Linked DNA regions of Homo sapiens: regions 2 and 3 are each linked to region 1. The links are contacts of gene promoters, found by promoter capture Hi-C in blood cells and fetal thymus (Javierre and others, 2016). All regions are on one chromosome and are shown on one strand. The core of a region is centred on a gene start or on the middle of the fragment in contact, and the rest is flanking DNA. Distances in the headings are between cores, read along the strand shown. Region 1 holds the start of TICRR (TOPBP1 interacting checkpoint and replication regulator). Region 2 overlaps VPS33B (VPS33B late endosome and lysosome associated). Region 3 overlaps HDDC3 (HD domain containing 3).

The links. Contacts are between HindIII fragments. The CHiCAGO score rates a contact against its expected background, and 5 or more counts as called.
Region 2: a fragment that was not itself captured here is called in contact with the fragment with the promoter of TICRR in region 1 in 1 of 17 cell types (monocytes); the score reaches 6.7 in monocytes.
Region 3: a fragment that was not itself captured here is called in contact with the fragment with the promoter of TICRR in region 1 in 2 of 17 cell types (fetal thymus and naive CD8 T cells); the score reaches 8.3 in fetal thymus.

The regions. Positions count from the first base shown.
Region 1 is chr15:89,573,262-89,577,320 of GRCh38, forward strand. TICRR (TOPBP1 interacting checkpoint and replication regulator) reads left to right here and starts at 2,208. Exons shown (of 22, transcript NM_152259.4): 1 at 2,208-2,979. The coding sequence starts at 2,326. RefSeq lists a silencer at 2,196-2,485 and an enhancer at 2,607-3,135. The HindIII fragment of the contact is 7,754 bases long and covers 2,016-4,059 here.
Region 2 is chr15:90,997,660-91,001,718 of GRCh38, forward strand. It overlaps VPS33B (VPS33B late endosome and lysosome associated), which reads right to left. Exons shown (of 23, transcript NM_018668.5): 19 at 3,730-3,803; 20 at 2,831-2,932; 21 at 2,241-2,316; 22 at 2,018-2,134; 23 at 1,014-1,395. The coding sequence ends at 1,316. Among named protein-coding and RNA genes, the nearest start is that of PRC1, 5.2 kb to the left of the region's middle. The HindIII fragment of the contact is 6,968 bases long and covers 1-4,059 here.
Region 3 is chr15:90,928,484-90,932,542 of GRCh38, forward strand. HDDC3 (HD domain containing 3) reads right to left here. Exons shown (of 4, transcript NM_001286451.2): 1 at 3,946-4,059; 2 at 3,572-3,627; 3 at 3,221-3,461; 4 at 1,485-2,922. The coding sequence starts at 4,057. The coding sequence ends at 2,792. It also overlaps a transcript of UNC45A not described here. Among named protein-coding and RNA genes, the nearest start is that of HDDC3, 2.0 kb to the right of the region's middle. RefSeq lists enhancers at 1,374-1,603, 3,234-3,463. The HindIII fragment of the contact is 1,870 bases long and covers 1,125-2,994 here.

The DNA.
Region 1 (4,059 bases), core at 958-3,457:
CACTCCAGCCTGGACGACAGAGCGAGACTCCATCTCAAAAAAAAAAAAAAAAAAGATATGTTAAGGTCCTCCTATCCCCCAGCATCCCCCAGAATGTGATCTTATTTGAAAATAGGGTCTTGTAGAAGTAAGCAAGTTAAAATAAAGTCATTAGGGTGGGCCCTAATCCAACATGACTGGTGTCCTTATAAAAGGGAAGTTTGGACACAGAGACAGCCATGCACAGAGGGAAGATGACGGGAAGACACACAGGAAGAACACCAAGAATTGCCAGCAAACATCAGAAACTAGAAGAGTCAAAGGATGATTCTCCCCTAGAGCCATGGGGGCTGGAGGGGAGCAAGTGCATGCCAACACTTTGATTTTGGACATCAAGCCTTCAGAACTGTGAGGCAATTTTTGGGTTTGATCCTTTGTTATGGCAGGCAGCCCTAGAAAACTCAACCAAAAGAGAAAATTGTTGTACATGAGGCAGTAATTGCTGAGGACTTTGATTGGAGAAGCCAAGGCACATAAAGGAAGTTGTAGCCAAAGCATATAAAGGAAGTTGTTCTGTTTCCAGGTGGAAACAGAATTACTTAGCAAGCAGAATTCAATGGTGTGGAGTATTGGATCAATCTCCCTAAACACATATTCAGGTAACCGACCTTCATTTTTTGTCCCCTTCTTCTTTCCAAATACCATATTCCACTGATCCTAGAGGCACATCTCACATCTCTGAAATCAGCCTGTTCACTGGTGTCCAGCAAGAGGAAGTGTAAAAAAGTTTCAAAAAAAATCACATGGAGAGACCATCACAGACAACTTCCGGTACACAATATTATATTAACAGTTTAAAAATATGCATATAAATGCATTTCTATCTATATATAACTTCTATCTATGATTATCTATCTATATATAATTCCTTTTTTTTTTGTTTTGTTTTTTTTTTTTTAGTAGAGACAGGGTTTCACTGTGTTAGCCAGGATGGTCTCGATCTCCTGACCTGGTGATTCGCCCGCCTCGGCCTCCCAAAGTGCTGGGATTACAGGCGTGAGCCACCGTGCCCGGCCTATCTATATATAATTCTATGTATTCTATCTATATAGCGATATATAATTTCTATCTGTAATGCAAATCTACATGTGATTTCTATCTATATATACATGTAGATAGAAAATTTAGGGAATTCACTGCAGGTGCTGCTTGCAGTCCACTTTTAAAACCTAACATTACATAATAAAACACTATTTTAAGAAGCTGCACTAGGCCGGGCTTGGTGGCTCACGCCTGTAATCCCAGCACTTTGGGAGGCCAAGTCGGGTGGATCACAAGGTCAGGAGTTTGAGACCAGCCTGGCCAACATGGTGAAACTCCGTCTTTACTAAAAATACAAAAATTAGTCTGGGGTGGTGGCGTGCGCCTGTAGTCCTATTCAGGAGGCTGAGGCAGGAGGATCGCTTGAACCCGGGAGGTGGAGGTTGCAGTGAGCCAAGATCGTGTCAATGCACTCCAGCCTAGGAGACAGAGCGAGACTCCGTTTCAAAAAAAAAAAAAAAAAAAAAAAAAAAAAAAAAGGAGCTGCACGATGCTCCCCTTGGGCGTGTACCATACCTTATTTAACCATTCCCAAACTGTTTCCATTTTTTCTGATGTTAAATAAACTCTAAGATGTACAGACGTCTTTTATCTGGCTCTCCGATTACCTTCTGCAGATAAACTCCTAGAAGTTACTGGGGCAAAGGGAGTGAACCTTTAATTTTTAATAAAATTTTTTAAATTACAGAAAAAGCCGTAGTCGTCAGATTCTACTTCCTAGGCGGTCCACAGGGATTTCAACAAGTTCGATTCAAACCATCCCAAATTCCCTCCCGGCACTAAGTTTTCCTCGGTCTTGGGAAACGTGGCCCCGCAGTCCGCACTCACGACTGCGCACAAACGCTGGCCTCTTTCCAATGGCGAAACTTCTCGACACGCCCCCGAGGCACCACCTCTTTAAAATTTAAAACGAAGGCCCAGGCCAATGAATGCTAAGCTTCTCTCGGACCACAGAGACCCGCCCACCGTCACTCCCTCCACCAATCAGACTGAAGTTTTCTCCACTGCCCCTCCAATCACCGCCAAAAATGGAAGTTGCTCTCGTAACTTACGTAAGGCAAGCAGCCAATAGGAGCAAACCTTGGAAACTAGCTCCCCCAATAGCAGCAGTTCCTGGAGAGCGCGGGAGCCTTTCGACCAGGGTCCCAAAGGAAAGCAGTGAGTGGTGCTGTTTCCCTGAAGGAAGGGACTAAGGGACGGTGGCGCGGGCCCGGACCGGGGCCCCGGGGCGGCGGCACGGCCGATATGGCATGCTGTCACAAAGTAATGCTGCTGCTGGACACCGCGGGCGGCGCCGCCCGCCACAGCCGGGTCCGGCGGGCCGCCCTGCGCCTCCTCACCTATCTGAGTTGCCGATTCGGCCTGGCCAGGGTCCACTGGGCCTTCAAGTTCTTTGACTCGCAGGGGGCGCGGAGCCGGCCGTCCCGCGTGTCTGACTTCCGCGAGCTGGGGTCCCGCTCGTGGGAGGACTTTGAGGAGGAGCTGGAGGCCAGGCTCGAGGATCGCGCCCACCTGCCCGGCCCGGCGCCCAGGGCCACCCACACGCACGGCGCCCTGATGGAGACGCTGCTAGACTACCAGTGGGACCGGCCCGAGATCACGTCGCCCACGAAGCCGATCCTGCGGAGCAGCGGGAGGAGACTGCTGGACGTGGAGAGCGAGGCCAAGGAGGCCGAGGCCGCGCTCGGGGGCTTGGTGAACGCCGTCTTCCTCCTGGCCCCCTGTCCGCACTCGCAGAGGGAGCTGCTGCAGTTCGTGTCTGGGTGCGAGGCCCAGGCCCAGCGCCTGCCGCCCACCCCTAAGCAGGTGATGGAGAAGTTGTTGCCCAAGAGAGTCCGGGAAGTCATGGTCGCCCGAAAAATCACCTTCTACTGGGTGGATACCACCGAATGGTCTAAGGTAAGGAAGGTTACTGTCGTCTCAGATGGCGTGCACGGTGCTTTCCTTGCTAACCAGAACTTGGCAGCGTCCTTAGAACAGCCACAGACCCCGAATGAGACTAATATGACTATGCGTCCCTTCGGAAGGAAACAAATAAATAGGAACAGTTTTCACAACAAAATGGGTAGTTCCTCACTACCTACTGTTTAAGACCCCTCACAATTTGGGCCCTACCTGCCTTCCCAGACTTGATTTTCCTACACACTACATCTACTCTAGCATATTGAAGTCCAGTCCAGAAAATCAACAGGTCTGGACTGCTTGTTTTGTGTTATGTGTGTTGTTCAATCTGCCTGGAATGCCAGTTCTCACTCTTCCAGGCCAGTCTTAACTTCACTTACCCTTTAAGGCTTCTTCTCCCAGTGACAACTGCTCAGTCCAGCGTCTGAATTGCCATACACATTTTGTGTGGCACTTAACCATTTCTCCATATGTTTTGATTATGCACATCTCTCACCCTCCATCTAGTCTAAAAATACCTCAGAGGCAAGCAGCAGGTTTTAACACAATACCCAGGGGTGTGTGTGTATGTGTGTGTGTATATATATATATATATATATATATATATATATATATATACACACACACACATATATATACACATTTATTTATATACATATATATATTTATTTATTATTATTTTTTGAGACAGTGTATGTCGCCCAGGCTGGAATGCAGTGGCTCACTGCAACCTCCACCCCTCCGGGTTCAAGCGATTCTCATGCCTCAGCCTCCCAAGTAGCTGAGACTACAGGCCCACGCCACCATGCCTGGCTAATTTTTTTGTATTTTCAGTGGAGACCAGGTTCCATGCTGCCCAGGCTGGTCTCAAACTCTGGCCTCAGGCAATCCGCCTGCCTTGGCCTCCCGAAGTGCCAGGATTATAGGTGTGAGCCACCACGCCCAGCCACCCAGATGTGTATTAAACGTTGTAGGTGTTCAGTCAGTATTGGCTGACTAAATGAGTACATTCTTGCGTACATTCTTGCAAACTTAAAGTCTTAAATGGCTAATTTGGATTTTTGCTGAGGCGGTGAG
Region 2 (4,059 bases), core at 890-3,389, 1.4 Mb after region 1:
GCTGAGTTTGAAGTGCCTGTGGAATGACCAGGTAGGAAATACTTGTGTGGCGCTAAGGAGTGAGATGAAGGCTTGAGATCTGGAAGTGGATGACAACAAAGGACAGAGAGAGGGGAGATGTCAGCAAATGGGATGAGCAGAGAGGAGTAATCAAAGAACAACCTAAGAGACTGTGGGAGGACAAAGAAAGGGTATTATGGAAGCTGAATAAGACAATTTCAAGGAAAGCATAGTCATCAGTGAGATCAAGTTGGAAGAGGCCTGAAAAGAGGCCACTAATATAGGTGGTTGTAATTCCTTCTTTTTTTTTTTTTTTTTGAGACAAGGTCACAGCTTACTGCAGCCTCGACCTCCTGGGCTCAAAGGATCCTCCCACCTCAGCCTCCCCAGTAGCTAGGAATACAGGTGTGTGCCACCACCCTCGGCTAATTTTTTTATTTTTTGTAGAGACGGGGTCTTCCCATGTTATCCAGGCTGGTCTCAAACTCCGGGGTTCAAGCGTTCCTCTTGCCTCGGCCTCCAAAAGTGCAGTGATTACAGGCATGAGCCACAGCACCTGGCCTATATTTCATCATTTTTAAAAGGTAAAGAGAGAGAGAAAGGCTACTAGCATCAGTAATGAGGAGGGTGCTGGCACATTTATAGGAGCACTGTTTGCTGATGCCTGAAATGGCTCTAATGGCACACAATCTTTCATTCTGCAATAAGAAACAAACGCTTAAAATTGAAGTGCCTCCTTAAATTAAAACAACAAAGTCATTTTCTCAAAAATGTAATGAATCACAACATTTTAGAACTGGAAACGTGCTTGCTGGTCACCTCAGCCATCTCCCTCATTTTATGGTAGAGGAAACTCAGGTACAGAGTGGTAGAGTGATTTTTACAGGGAAGAACCAGACCAGGCCTGGAGCCACTACAAAGTCCAGGCCAAGAAGCACAGGAAGCCCCTGTAGCAAGCTCCAATGGGCTTTCACTAATAAAGATGGAAGTGCGTGTCCAGAACGACCAACGTATTACATCTGAGAGCAGAGGCTTTATTTACAATGACATTCAAACAGGATTTAGCAAAGGATGCCTCTTCCTGCTCGCATCTTAGCAGCATGGGTTGTACTTCATAAACAGAAAAGAGAAATATCCTGGGAGCAGGAAGTGAACTCTTTTCTCAGATAATGTTCTCTAAATCCCAACACGTTCCATGCTCCCGGCTCTTAGCAGGTAGTTGGTGGACACTTGGTTATAGCAGCTGGGTGCCAGATGCCTGCATCTCACTGAGGAATGTGTTCAGGGAAGATGTCAACACTGGCCGGGAAAAACATCAGGCTTTCACCTCACTCATGGCCTCCATAAGGCGAGCGCTGTTTGTGACTGCTGTCGTCAGGAAAATGAACCTGTAGCCTAAGGAGTCAAATGCAGCAGCAGAAGAGACAGCACAGATCTTAGGCCCCAACGGCAACCCATAGAGCCTCTCCAGTTCCACAGTCCCCACGGGATCACAGCACCAGTTTATAGACAGAGACGTGAGTGCCATGCTCTTGGGCACCACTGCTTTCTATGACTGGTATAACTGGGCTCCCTGCTGTGGCAGCCCAGAGTTAAGGCTATGGCAAGTTGTATTCTGAGGCCAGGAGAAAAATATTCCTGTGCAGGACACTTTGCGTGTTTTTTTTTTTTCTCTTGAGATGGAGTTTTGCTATTGTTGCCCAGGCTGGAGTGCAATGGTGCAATCTCAGCTCACTGCAACCTCCACCTCCCGGGTTCAAGCAATTCTCCTGCCTCAGCCTCCCGAGTAGTTAGCATTACAGGCACCGGCCACCATGCCTGGCTAATTTTTGTATTTTTCGTAGAGATGGGGTTTCACCATGTTGGTCAGGCTAGGCTCTAACTCCTGACCTCAGGTGATCTGCCCGCCTCCGCCTCCCAAAGTGCTGAGATTACAGGTATGAACCACCGTGCCCAGCTGACACTTTGTTACCCAGATACAATGCAGGCCAATTCTCACCTTTCTGCTCTCTCTTACCTTTCTCTCTGCCCAGGAACCGGAGGGCTGAGATCTCAGAGAATGTACAACCACCCAAGAACACCACCAAGATGAGGCGCAGGGACTCACTGGAAGCCTTGTCTTCCTTAGTCATATCTGTGAGGATCAGACCAGATTCAGCCCTTCCCTGACATGCTAGTCCTGAGTGGTGCATCCAGCCCACCTCTCACTGCCAGCCTACCCCACTGTTAATGCCACATACCTGTGAATGCAAAGTCACTGCAGTTGAGCAGCCGTACCACCTCATCAAGGCCCTGCCAGCTTCGCCGCTCTAGCACCTGGGAAGGTGTAAGCACTGTTTTTAAGGCTACAGACAGTATCAGGCTTAGGAAAGGAAGGGCACAGCAGCCAGACTGTCACATTTCTTGCTCATTACTCAAGTAGCAAAAAGTTGAGACAGGGCCAGGTGTGGTGGCTCACGCCTGTAATTCCAACACTTTAGGAGTTTGAGGCGGGGGGATCACCTGAGGTCAGGAGTTCGAGACCAGCCTGGTCAACATATAGTTGGCCCTGTCTATATGAAACCCCATCTCTACTAAAAATACAAAAATTAGCTGGGTGCAGTGGCACATGCCTGTAGTCCCAGCTACTTCGGAAGCTGAGGCAGGAGAATCACTTGAATCTGGGAGGTGGAGGTTGCAGTGAGCCAAGATCGTGCCACCGCACTCCAGCCTGGGTGACAGAGCAAGACTCCATCTCAAATAAAAAAAAAAAAACATTGAGACACGCCAGGGACCAAGAGAAAGCAGAGAGAATGAAATATGAATGGGAGCAAGAATTACATGCTCTCACCTGCTCAATGATTCGGCAGCTCAGGGGCACATAAGCACCACCGAAGACGTAAGCCATGTCTCGGGGCACTTTCAGATCATACTCGCCGTCCACACGTGGGATCTGTAAGACAAAGGGACTTCATTAGGCAAGTGACAGCTCAGCTCCCTAACCCTTTAAAGGGTCAGATAAAGTGGCATGGCCCAAGGAACAATTCTTATTTCAACTAAAGGGAGAACCAGCAATAGCCCTGAAAAGAGAATCCATAACGGAAGATGGCAGTTTTTGTTCAGTAACTGCCAGTTCTCTGGAATGAGTTCCCATGCGCCATTATTGAATAATGTAAAGGGGCTGGAGGGATGGCTTCTCCTTTCCCTACCCTTAAGTGACACAGGATATGGTTGTCACTGAAGCAGCACTTAGAATATTCTCTGGCATTGGCAGGTGCTTGTTACATGTTGATTAAATGAATGAATCTACCATGCTATAAGACTACCAAACAAAAGAATCTTTATACACATGAAATGACAAAAAGGTTTTTGTGGATTCAAAGTACTCCACAATGGGCTGGGCGCAGTGGCTCATGCCTGTAATCCCAGCACTTTGGGAGGCCGAGGTGGGCGGATCACCTGAGGTCAGAAGTTCAAGACCAGCCTGGCCAACATGGGGAAACCTTGTCTCTACTAAAAATACAAAAATTAGCTGGGCGTGGTGGCACATGCCTGTAATCCCTTGGGAGGCTGAGGCAGGAGAATCACTTGAACCTGGGAGGCAGAGGTTGCAGTGAGCTGAGATTGTGCCACTGCACTCCAGCCTGGGCAACAGAGCAAGATTCCATCTCAAAAAAAAAAAAAAAAAAGAAAAGTACTCCACAATGGAATGAACCCACTGTCTCCCCTAACCATCCCTGTTCCACATACCAAATTCAGCTTTTTGCTGATGGCACGAAAATTGCTCCTCTTGGCCAGAGAACTGAAGGCATCAGTAATCTTTCCTGGGGAAGAAATCTGTGTCAGGTTTCACCTAAGGTCTATGGATTCATGACACTGCCACAGATAACACCATTCAGGACACGACAGCACCAATCACATCCAAAAACTCTCGGAAGCTGTTCAACTATAATTCCCTGGAACTAATCAAGATATACTCCCCACCCTTCTCCCCACCCACAGTCTTCCCCCTCCTACGGGGTACCAGCTCTCTACTAAATGCAATCCACAGGGTAACCCGAGTTTATTGGTATGTGCTTT
Region 3 (4,059 bases), core at 810-3,309, 1.4 Mb after region 1:
AGACAATCACAGTGATAGCAGACATCTAGTTAGCTACAGTAGACACCTGGAGTCCATTCAAACCTAGAGAAAACTCAGCCTTGAATTTGCTATCAGCTACACCATTCAAGAGCACGGGGGAAATGAAGACATTTTCAGACATGCAAAGACTCAACAGTTTGCAATGTACAAAACTTTAGTGGAAGAAAGTAGGTGTACTTAAGCAAAAAGAGAATTTGTCTAGGGGCATAAACTAATGAGAGGGAGGGTACACCTAAATACTGGCTATAAATGTAATACTAGTTTATAGTTTAAAAAGAGGCAGGAACTAAAATTCTAGAAAGCAATATTGTGAAGAGTTATTCAAGGCTGGGCACAGTGGCTCACGCCTGTAATCCCAGCACTTTGGGAGGCTGAGGTGGGCAGATCACCTGAGGTCAGGAGTTCGAGACCAGTGTGGCCAACTTAGTGGAACGCCATCTCTACTAAAAAATAAAAAATAAAAAAATCCAAAAACAGGTACTAAGAGGACAGACCTTGCATCAAATGGTGCTAGGAAAACTGGACATCCACAAGCAAAACCATACATCATATATTTTGTATATGGTGTATATACAAAAAAATTACACCATATACAAAAATTAACCCAAAATGTTCTTGCCACAAAAACAACAAAAAATTGGGTAACTACGTGAAATGATGGATGTGTTAATTTGCTTCACTATAGTAACCTTTTTACTACCTGTATGTAGCCTCATAACATCATGTATACCTTATACCAAATTAAATTGATTTAAAAAGAAATTTAACCCAAAATGGATCAAAAACTTTACTTGTAAGAGCTAAAACGATAACTTTGGGAGGCCAAGGCGGGTGGATCACCTGAAGTCAGGAGTTAAAGACCAGCCTGGGCAGCAAGGATAAATCCCGTCACTACTAAAAATACAACAATTAGCCATGCGTGGTGGCGCACGCCTGTTATCCCAGCTACTCGGGAGACTGAGGCAGGAGAATAGCTTGAACCCGGGAAGCGGAGGTTATGGTGAGCAGAGATGGCACCATTGCACTCCAGCCTGGGCAACAAGAGTGAAACTCCGTCTCAAAAAAAAAAGCTAAAACGAAAGCTCCTAGAAGAAAACAGGAAAAGCTTCATGGCATTAGATTTGGCAACGATTTCTTAGATATGACACTAAAAACACAGGCAACAAAATATATAAAGTGGACTACAACAAAGTCATCTTTTCTTAAAAAAATCTCGTTATCTTACTCCCGCAAAACTATTTAAAAAAATTAAGTTCAAAGTTCTCCAAAATGTACCATACCCTGGGGATTACTCTGAACTTTGTTCATTTGTTTTCTTTTAATTCGGCTTTTTTGGTTGCCTTTCACCTACTTTTTCGCAGAGCCCTCCGCTGGGGCCTTCACTTGGGCAAACAACTATCGTAGTCGAACAGCTTTGACCTAACAATTTCCTCGTACCCAAGATGATCGCTTTTCCAGACAACTTAATAAACTTTGGCTTTAATGGATGACTGGATGCAGAATAAAATACATAAAAATAAACCTCAGCTGCTCAGCAACGACTGAAAAACCACCACCGGGCAATCCCTCCCCATGGCCACCGAGCAAAGTTCCACCGCCTCCCCTACGCCGACCGCCGGGCTCCCGGGGTCGGACAGCCCCGGGCCACTTCCGGGCCTTCCCGGAAGTCCCTGTCACTTAACAACCGAAGTAACCCGCAATGCGGAAGGGCGAGGGGATTGCGAGTCACCGAGTTTCCCGCGCGGCTTGAGGTACTGGGGAACCGGAATCCCCCACCGGCCCAATCATGTTGCTGCTGGGGTCTCTCCGGTGCCCAGCAGTGGTTGTCAGTAAGCGGGCGGCACTCCCTTCCGATACGTCTTTTCTTTTTTCATTTTTGAGACGGAGTCTCGCTGTGTCACCCAAGCTGGAGTGCAGTGGCGCGATCTCGGCTCAGTACAAACTCCGCCTCCCGGGTTCAAGCGAGTCTCCTGCCTCAGCCTCCTGAGTAGCTGGGATTACAGGCGCGAGCCACTGCGCCCGGCTAATTTTTTTTTGTATTTTTAGTAGAGACGGGGCCTCGCCATGCTGGCCAGGCTGGTCTTGAACTCCTGACCTCAAGTGATCCGCCCGCCTCGGTCTCCCAGAGTGCTGGGATTACAGGCGAGAGACACCGCGCCTGGCCCCCTTCCAACTTTCTTAACGGGAAAGGCTGCTACCATTTCTTGAGCACCTATGTGTCAGGCTCCATCAGGCACGTCACAGTCTAACCTGATAATTACACAACCCATGTCACTGACAAGGAAGCCAGGTTCGGAGGGGTTGAGGCCCGCAACCTGAGGGAGGTGACTCCGGGACACACAATTAGTCCTGCTTTGCTGAAGGAAAGATATGCAGCCCACCAGTCGGAGGCTGGAGAAGGAGCAGCAGCAGCTTAAACCTTAACCCAGAGTTATTTTTATTTTCCAGAACGTGTTAGGAACTAGTACTTAAATAATCTCAAGTCCCTGAGGGGCCAGAGATCCCACCATGCAAAATAGCAAACAGACCCAAGACTTGGGGAGAGGCGGTGAGTGCATCAGAAATGGATGGGTACATCTGATTCCCACCACGCGGGGCTCAGCTTAGTTAGCAGGAGACCTTCAGACTGAGAAAAAATGCAAGTCTTTTTTTGGCCTCTAATATCTGGGAAGGATGGAGGGAGCTCAGGAGACACAGAAAAGATGGCGTATGAATCCTGTCCGGCCTGAACGAGGCTGGAGTTGTGCCTCTGGATAGCTTCAAGCACTGATCAGATTGTCAGCCCCCGCTGCTTGAACAGATGCTTTAGAGCCTCTTCCAGTTGCCGGTTTGTTCCCTGAAGCCCCTTCACCACCTGCGCTGCCCACTCGAAGTATTCCTGGACTCGATGTTCTGACCATCCTGCATAAGAGTCGACAGAAACTTGCTAGCGTGATGTCAAGGAAAGCACTGCCTTTTCCCCACTTCCTGGCAAGCTTGGTTCAAGGCCATGAGTTCCTGATGGAATGAGCTGTCCTGAAAACTTCCCCTTGGCCCAGCTATTGTATTTTTACTGTATGAAAGAAGATCAAAGAGTGGTCCAGTAGGATTAATTTGGGAATTAAGAATGCCCAGGGTTTTTCAGGGGAACTGACCAACATGTGTCTTCAGAAGGCGGCATCCCCCTCCCTTTTCCCTTACAGCCCATACGAAAGCGTACCCTCTGGGGTGCAGCGATTCAGGTCCCTCAGATTGTACAGCTTGTCTGCCAGCTTCACCAGTTTGGCCCCGGGGCTACTGTGGGGCGCTTGCTCCACCTGCAGCCTCTTTCTCTCCAGCTTGGGCAGAGTCTTGTCATCTGTTACCTCCTCCACCAGGCGCCGCACTTGTGCCCCAAAGTGTAGCTCCACCTCATCCAGGGTGGTGTCTGTGTCCTCCACCGTGTCATGGAGCAGGGCCGCCTGGGGACAAGTTCCCACTCAGCCCTGAGATGTCAGCCAAGGGTTGCCCATTGCTGAATGGGGCCCCTAATCCCCATCCCAGGCTCCTGGCAGAGAAGGGGGAAAGTTACCTGTAACACCACAATGTCAGTGATTCCCGCCTCGTGGGTCAGGATCCGTGCCACACCTGACGGGGAGGGGCAAAGCAGGAAGTCAGGTCGGAGGTAGTCCCAAGGCGGTGTGTTGTGGGTTTTGGAGAGCCAGATGTGGCCCCTTGTGGACTCTGACTAGCTGGGTGACCTTGGTCAAGTACCTTACCCTCTGGGAGCCAACCGACAAAGGGAACGATCATGCCTACCGTTCCAATTGTTATGAGGCTTAAACGGTATATCGCACTAAGCTTGGGACAAAACAGGTGCTCAATGAGGTGCACGCCCCCCACGTTTCCTTCCCAGTCCCCACCACCCAGGTGCCGCAGCCGGCGCTCCGCGGCCGACGCGCCCACCGATGGGGTGGTTGATGTAGGGGGTCCCCTCGGGGTCCTTCCGCCGCTGCTGCCGGTGCTTGCGAGCCGCGAAGTCGGCAGCCTCCAGCAGCTGCGCCGCCTCAGAGCCCATCG